2 separate regions of the Homo sapiens genome follow, and region 1 is linked to region 2. The links are contacts of gene promoters, found by promoter capture Hi-C in blood cells and fetal thymus (Javierre and others, 2016). All regions are on one chromosome and are shown on one strand. Each heading gives the region's core, a stretch centred on a gene start or on the middle of the fragment in contact. The rest is flanking DNA. Distances are from core to core; before and after follow the strand shown. Region 1 has its middle 5.0 kb from the start of BAZ1A. Region 2 holds the start of SNX6 (sorting nexin 6).

Region 1 (4,173 bases), core at 1,329-3,828, 250 kb after region 2:
ATGATCACGAGTAATATAATGCAAAAAGAGAAGTAGAAAATATTAGAATAAAATGTAGAAGGAAGACCCCAGGATCAGTCCTAAATGAAGTCATCTACAGGGCATGATTTGAAGGGCAACAGAGAACTCATGCTCCAACATATCCTCGCCAGTCTCAAGCGACAACCCCATCAATCTCCATTAGTCGTCCTTCAGCATGAAGACACGTAAAATGGGAATATTCTAGTTAGGCAGAACATATATTAATCTAATACTATCAAGACATAGTTTGATTAAAATATCAATTTTGAGACACATACTGCCTTAGAAGTAAAGACAAAACAAGACTATGGGCCAGGCGAAGTGACTCACACCTGTAATGCCAGCACTTTGGGAGGCCAAGGCAGGTGGATGAGGTCAGGAGTTCAAGACCAGCCTGACCAACATGGTGAAACCCTGTCTCTACTAAAAATACAAAATTAGCTGGGCATGGTGGCACACGCCTGTAATTCCAGCTACTTGGGAGGCTGAGGCAGGAGAATCACTTGAACCCAGGAGGCAGAGGTTGCAGTGAGCCAAGATCATGCCATTGCACTCCGGTTTGAGCAACAAGAGCAAAATTCCATCAAAGAAAAAAAAAAGACTGGAATTTTAAGTTTTATTATTTATTTATTTTTGAGACAGTCTCTTACCCTGTTGCCCAGGCTGGGGTGCAGTGGCACGATCTCAGCTCATGCAACCTCTGCCTCCTGATGCAACCTCTGCCTCCTGCGTTCAAGTGATTCTCCTGCCTCAGCCTCCCGAGTAGCCGGGATTACAGGTGCCTGCCACCATACCCAGCTAATTTTTGTATTTTAGGTAGAGACGGGGTTTCCCCATGTTGGCCAGGCTGGTCTCGAACTCCTGACTTCAGGTGATCCACTCGCCTTGGCCTCCCAAAGTGCTGGGATTACAGGCATGAGCCACCGCACCTGGCCCGGAATATAAATTTTTAAAGTTTGAGGCCAGGCGTGGTGGTTCATACCTGTAATCCCAGCACTTTGGGAGGCCGAGGCGGGTGGATCACGAGGTCAGGAGTTCGAGACCATCCTGGCTAACATGGTGAAACCCCGTCTCTAATAAAAATACAAAAAATTAGCCAGGCATGGTGGCGGGCGCCTGTAGTCCCAGCTACTTGGGAGGCTGAGGCAGGAGAATGGCGTGAACCCAGGAGGCGGAGCTTGCAGTGAGCCAATATCCAGCCACTGCACCCCAGCCTGGGCGACAGAGTGAGACTCTGTCTCAAAAAAAAAAAGAAAGAAAGAAAGAAAAAAGTTTGAACTAGAACAATTTTCCTGCAGCTTCTATTAATATTGACTGATTAACTTAAGAAAGGCTTTATACTTAGGTGGTTTAGTGAGACAGTAATCACTTACACCTGAAAGAAACCTTTGGGACCTCTGTTAATTCTTCCATTTTGCACCTGAGGAAATTGAAGCTGAGGAACCAGAATCCAGGCCTCCTGAGTCTCCTTGTCCAGTCAGTGTCTTTAGACCACACTGCTCTTTCTTTGGATTCAATAATAGCTAATTTTCTTATATACCCTACTCCCACAGCATTAATGAGCTAAAATACCATTATACATCCTTCCTAAAGTGCTCATATAGGGATAAGCTATATTACTGATGATTAGAAATAATTATTTTTGTTGCAGCTGTGTCCTTAACATTAAAAAATAAAAAGTAAAGAAATAATTATTTTTGAGAATCATCCAGGAAAGCAATGGGGTAATAAAAGTCATAGGCCGGGTGAGGCTGCTCATGTCTGTAATCCCAGCACTTTGGGAGGCTGGGGCGGGCAGATCACCTGAGGTCAGGAGTTCAAGACAAGCCTGGCCAACGTGGTGAAACCCCGTCTCTACTAAAAGTACAAAAATTGGCTGGGCGTGGTGGTGTGCGCCTGTAATCCCAGCTACTCGGGAAGCTGAGGCAGGAGAATCGTATGAACCTGGAAGGTGAAGGTTGCAATGAGCTGAGATCATGCCGTTGCACTCCAGCCTGGGGACACAGTGAGACTCCGTCTCAAAAAAAAAAAAAAAAAAAATCATAAATTTCTCTAATTGGACAGCTGACATGAGACCTATCTCCATGCTTCCATTAACACATCTAACAGATAGAAAATTTCATTTCCCTTACCTCTCAGCAATATTATAAAAGTACTTACAGTATAGCTGCCCAAGCTTTTCTGAGAAAGATGCCTTACAAATATATACAAGGAACATCTTTAGTTTTGTAATTCCTTTTCTCACATATCTCTAACATTTGTCTCAAGTCTTCTATGTTCTTTATAATGTCTTTCTAATGAATTCATGGCATTTTACCCATAAAAGATTTCTATATACAGTACTGTTATTTAGAAGCAATGTGTTTTCCTTTATATCTGAAACCAGTGGCCTAGTGTTAGAATAGTGGTTCTAGAACTTGGCTGCCCATTGGAAACACCTGAAGGGTTTTTGAAAAATACTGGTGCTTGGGCCATATCCAGGCCCCAGGTCGCTGGGAAAGAGACCCAGGCATTGGGAGTTTAAAAATCTACTCAGGTAATTTAATGGACTGCCAAGGCTGAGAATTACTGTGCTCGGACTGTTGATGTTGAAGTGGTAATGTGGGCAAATTGGGAATACATCTTTTTATTCAACCCCTTCCGATTAGAGTCATGAATTATGGGATGTAGTTAAAGTTGAGAGAGTAGTCTATGGTCATCATCTTTATCACAGTAATACTTTACATTTAATGACTGTTTCCAACTTGTCAAGGATTGTGCTAAGGGCTTTAAGGGAATCATCTCATCTCATGCAATTTTCACCTCAAACTAAGAAGTACTTATCACCATTTTACAGATGAAGCCAGTGAGGCTCTGAGAGGTTAATTAAGTAGCATGCCCCAAACCATACAGTTCAGAAACAGGAAGGCCTAAATTCCAATCTTATCAACTCCAGAATCCAAGCTTCTTACTACTATTCTATATTTCCATAGGACTGACTTGCTAATCTAGCTCAGATATAAACTGAAACAGGGAACTCAGTACTATCCACTGAACAATTTAGAACTTGTAATGATTAAGAAGGTTTGTTAATCATAAAAGTACTAACGAAAACCATGTAAGATTTTTTTAAAAATTATCTCAAAAGAAAGAAAGCCTACTTATAAGAGAAAATACACAATATATAATTCTACAAAATAAAAATTTAGGCTGGGCACAGTGACTCATGCCTATAATCCCAGTATTTTGGGAGGCCGAGGCAGGTGGATCACTTGAGCACAGGAGTTCAAGAACAGCCTGGGCAACATGGTGAAATCCCATCTCTACTGAAATACAAAAATTAGCCAGGTATGGTGGCACACGCCTGTGGTCCCAGCTACTCAGGAGTCTGAGGTGGGAGGATCATTTGGGCCCAGGAGGTTGAGGCTGCAGTGAGCCAAGATCTCACCACTGCACTCCAGCCTGGGCAACAGAGTGAGACCCTGTCTCAAAAATAAAATAATAAATAAAGTTCCGCATATAAAAGTTAACACAGGCCAGGCACAGTGGCTCACACCTGTAATCCCAGCACTTTGGGAGGCCGAGGCAGGTGGATCACCTGAGGTCAGGAGTTCAAAATCAGCCTAGCCAGCATGGCAAAAACCTGTCTCTACTAAAAATACAAAAATTAGCCAGGCTTGGTGGTGGGCTCCTGTAATCCCAATTACTCAGGGAGACTGAGGCATGAGAATCGCTTAAACCTGGGAGGCAGAGGTTGTAGTGAGCCGAGATCGTGTCACTGCACTCCAGCCTGGGCAACAGAGCAAGACTCCATCTCAAAAAACAACAACAACAAAAACAACGAAAAAAAGCTACCACAAAGTTGAAAGACAATAGCAAATTGGGGAAAAAAATATTTGCAACTCGCTGACAAAGGGCTAATTTCCCTAATATATAAAGAGCTCCCATAAATAATAATAATAAATCACAATAACCCAACATAAACAGAAAAGGAAGCACAAATGGCTTTTCAAACATAAAAAACACTTTGGGAGGCTGAGGTGGAGAGATCACTTGAGGTCAGGAGTTTGAGACCAGCCTGGCCAATGTGTCGAAACCCCGTCTCTACTAAAAATACAAAAATTAGCCAGGCGTGGTGGCGTAGGCCTGTAGTACCAGCACTTGGGAGGTTGA
Region 2 (4,068 bases), core at 307-2,806:
GCACTCCAGCCTGGGCAACAAAGGGAGATACTGTCTCATAAAACCAAATAAATAAATAAAAGTTTTATAAAAGTCATCAGTTCATACTAACTACCTCATCTGTTATTACAAACAGCAATAACATCCCACAATATTTTATCACCTACCAAATATGCACTAACAGATGTCTCTCTCACATTAAAACGGATAAGAAAAAGCAAAAGGGAAAACTGAAGTGCAGGCTGTGAAATGTGAAGGAACCATGGAACCTTGCTGAATGGTAATTATCATATATCAACATTTTCCAAGTGCTCACTTGTACAAGGGACTATAAAGATTACCACCCTTCAGCCAAGGAAAAAGGGGGTGGAGAGTGGGGTGGGAGGGAGGAATCAGAGCCCGGAAGGCTCTTTCTGAAGTAGAATGCAACTAACCTCAGAACACCAAGGGCAGAATGGAGGTTATCAAAGGCCTGGCGGAGTGTGTATGTGGGGGGTGAGTGGGTGGAGCGTCGATGTTGGTCAAAGGGTACATACTTGAAATTTGCTTAGATCTCAAATGTTCTCACACAAAAAAAAATGGTAACTAGGTGAGGTGATGGATATGTCAGGTTGATTTTGGTACTCATTTCACAATGTATTCGTGTATTAAAATATAATGTATACCTTAAGTATATACAATTATCAACAGTATTTGTCAATATACCTCAAAGAAGCTAAGGGGGAATAAAACACCAAGGAAATCCTGCCAAAGACAGGATTTGTTGGATATTAGAAAAAGTAAAGATACCATGGGCTACCTGCACTTTGCATAATCTAGTAGGGCACTGGACAGGAGTTGATTCGGCTACTATAAAAATCCTTGCAAAATGGTAATGTAGACTACACCTGTACTATTTGAGAGAGACAGAAGGGTGGGCGGGAGCAAGTTCGAGATGTCCACACCGGGTGAAAATTGAGGGTGCCGCTGGGAAGGTCCGAGAATGGGTTTTCATGGCCCCAAAGTGTCGAGGGAGGGTGGGGGCGTTCCATCTCCCGCCTCCATTTCCACTTCGCCACCTGCACCCCGCCCCGCGTGGGAGTGGAGGTCCACCAGAAGGCCCGAACAGCGGCGGGGGACAAGAAAGCGGCCGCGGGTCCCCGGGAATCGGAGCCGAGCGGCCCCTAGGGAGGAAGGGCTGCGGGAGGGTGGGGCGCGGTGCAGCGAGGAAACCGAAAGGAGGACTACGGGGAGGGAGTGCCGCGCGGCTGGGGACCCATCCCCGTACCACACCCGGGGACCCAGGATGGGGAAGGAGGGTCCAGGGTCCCGCGAGCGAAAGGAAGGCAGAACTTACTCCGCGGTCCTCTTCTGAGAGGAAGTCCGGGCCGTCGTCCAGGCCTTCCTGTGGGGTCGGCGGGCACGGCGCGCCGGGGAAAAGGATGAGATGGGGGAGACACAAAGGGAGACATTAGTGACAGGCTGGCGCGGTCCCCGCGCCCGCCCCGCGCCCGCTGCCCCCACCGCGCTCCCGGGACTCGGCGCCGCGGAGAACACCCACCATCATGGCTGCTCCGAGGCGAGGGCCGGCGCAGGCGCGCATCTCCCTGCTGCCGGAGGGAGCCGGCGGCCAGGAGCGGGGCGGGGCGGGGCGGAGGCGAAGGGGCGGGGCCTAAGGACGGCCCGCCCCGTCCCCGGCGCTGGTCGCTCGAGTCCGTGAGCGAGGAAGGTTAACAGGGCCTTCTGCCCAAGGTCAAGGCACCGAAGTCGGGAGAGCCTGAAGACCCAGACCTCATGGCTGGGGGCACCTCGCAGCTGGCGGGCTCTGACCAGGGAAGGGCCAAAGGCCACCCAGGGAGCTCTCCAGTTCCCCTGCCCCGAGGGCTCCAGCGAAAAACGATGCAGGCGCCCTCCGGAAGCCATAATACATCATCTGGTCTTTGTATTATGCCACACGATAATTAATCACAATTAATATCATTTTGCCTATGGAAGTTGCTGGAAACAAGGACCTTCACACAGTCGGTAATCAGGGACTATAATCAAGCTTTTACCGCTGGCGAGGTAATAACTACCTCAGAGTTTGGGGCACTAATGGTTGCGAACTATAAAAATGAGCTGTTTTCATTACAAAAATATTCCTTTCCTTTGTTAGAAGAAATTTCCCCACACCTACTCTAACTGTCCAGGTGGTTAGCATCACACGGGATCCACAGGCATTTCAAATAACGGGAGAAAATCATACTTAATCCTAGAATCTACACGTTCCTGAGCTTGCATTCAGTTAAGGAAAGGCATCTTCAGATGTTCAGACCAGAAACCCTTAACCCATTGAAATCCGTACTCTAGGGGCCGGGCGCTGTGGCTCACGTCTCTAATTCCAGCACTTTGGGAGGCCAAGGCGGGCGGATCACCTGAGGTCAGGAGTTTGAGACCATCCTGGCTAACATGGTGAAACCCCGTCTCTACTAAAAATACAAAAATTAGCCGGGCGTGGTGGCGCGTGCCTGTAATCTCAGCTACTTGGGAGGCTGAAGCAAAAGAATCGCTTGAACCTGGAAGGCAGAGGTTGCAGTGAGCCGAGATTGCACCACTGCACTCCAGCCTGGGCAACAGAGCAAGACTCTGTCTCAAAAAAAGAAAGAAATAAATCCTTATCTCCCTTACTCCTCATATCCAACCAAATCCTATGGCTTCTACAATTGATTGTCCTTCATACCTCTTTTTTTTTTTTTTTTGAGACAGAGTCTCGCTCTGTCGCCCAGGCTGGAGTGCAGTGGTGCGATCTCGGCTCACTGTAAGCTCCACCTCCAGGGTTCACGCCATTCTCCTGCCTCAGCCTCCCGAGTAGCTGGGACTACAGGTGTGTGCCACCACACCCGGCTAATTTTTTTGTATTTTTAGTAGGACAGGATTTCACCATGTTAGCCAGGAAGGTCTTGATCTCCTGACCTCATGATCCGCCCGCCTCGACCTCCCAAAGTGCTGGGATTACAGGTGTGAGCCACTGCGCCCAGCCCATACCTCTTTAATTAGTCCAATTTTTCCAGTTCTCACAGCAATTACCATCAACTCTCGTCTACACCTTTGCAATACTCTCCTGACTCCACTATTTTCCATCACTTTATCCTATTTTACACACTGCTGCCAGTTTTCCTCCTAAAACACAGATATTGATGATTATGCTACTACCCTGTTCAGTAATCTTTACAAGCCCCCATTACATAACGATTCAATTCCTCAGCCTACGATTTCAAGCCTTCTACATTTGAATCCCTCTCTACTCTGCCAGGCCCTCCATCCTATTTTATTGAAGTGAAGCTCTCAAAACAATATTAAACTTAACTGATATTTTGGCCGGACGCAGTGGCTCACACCTGTAATCCCAGCACTTTGGGAGGCCAAGGGGGGCAGATCATCTGAGGTCAGGAGTTCAAGACGAGCCTGGCCAACATGGTGAAACCTCATCTCTACTAAAAATACAAAAATTAGCTGGGTGAGGTGGTGCGCACCTGTAATCCCAGCTACTCGGGAGGCCAAGGCAGGAGAATTGCTTGAACTCGGGAGGCAGAGGTTGCAGTGAGCCAAGATCATGCCACCACACTCCAGCCTGGGTGACAGAGACTGCGTCTCAAAAAGAAAATAATAAATAAAAATTAAAAATTTAAAAAAACCACTTAACTGATATTTTCATAAGAACTTCTTGTAGCTTTCATTTTGTATGTAAGGAGAACTGAAGTATAGAGAGGTTAAGTTACTGCTCCAACAAAGGTTACTCTACGAAATGGGGGGCGGGGAAGGGACTTTATTTTTTGTCTTTTGTTTCTTGTTTCCCAGCGCATTGTGGTGACTACTAAAGTAGTCTTTTTCACTGGGAGTCATGAGGCATCATGTGGTGTCATTGTAGTGTGATGAAGTGTCGGGAGGAATGTTCCAGTAATTTGTTACCTACTAAAAGTGCCACTATTTCCTATTGGTTTGTTTTTAGATTAAAGGTAATGTCTGCAAAGCTCTTCCTAGGTGGAGAGAGAGGAGTGGAGCCACAATAAATGAGAGGGATTTACATACAACTGATAGGAAGGCCAAGTGCGTCCTTGTGGACAAAGGTTG

The links. The method cuts DNA at HindIII sites, captures the fragments that hold promoters and counts their contacts. A CHiCAGO score of 5 or more calls a contact.
Region 1: a contact is called between a fragment that was not itself captured here and the fragment with the promoter of SNX6 in region 2, in 1 of 17 cell types (total B cells). The highest score is 6.0, in total B cells.

The regions. Positions count from the first base shown.
Region 1 is chr14:34,878,266-34,882,438 of GRCh38, forward strand. No RefSeq gene overlaps it. Among named protein-coding and RNA genes, the nearest start is that of BAZ1A, 5.0 kb to the left of the region's middle. The HindIII fragment of the contact is 767 bases long and covers 2,196-2,962 here.
Region 2 is chr14:34,628,592-34,632,659 of GRCh38, forward strand. SNX6 (sorting nexin 6) reads right to left here and starts at 1,557. Exons shown (of 14, transcript NM_152233.4): 1 at 1,520-1,557; 2 at 1,316-1,363. The coding sequence starts at 1,525. RefSeq lists a silencer at 1,311-1,660 and an enhancer at 1,831-1,880. The HindIII fragment of the contact is 3,459 bases long and covers 1-2,003 here.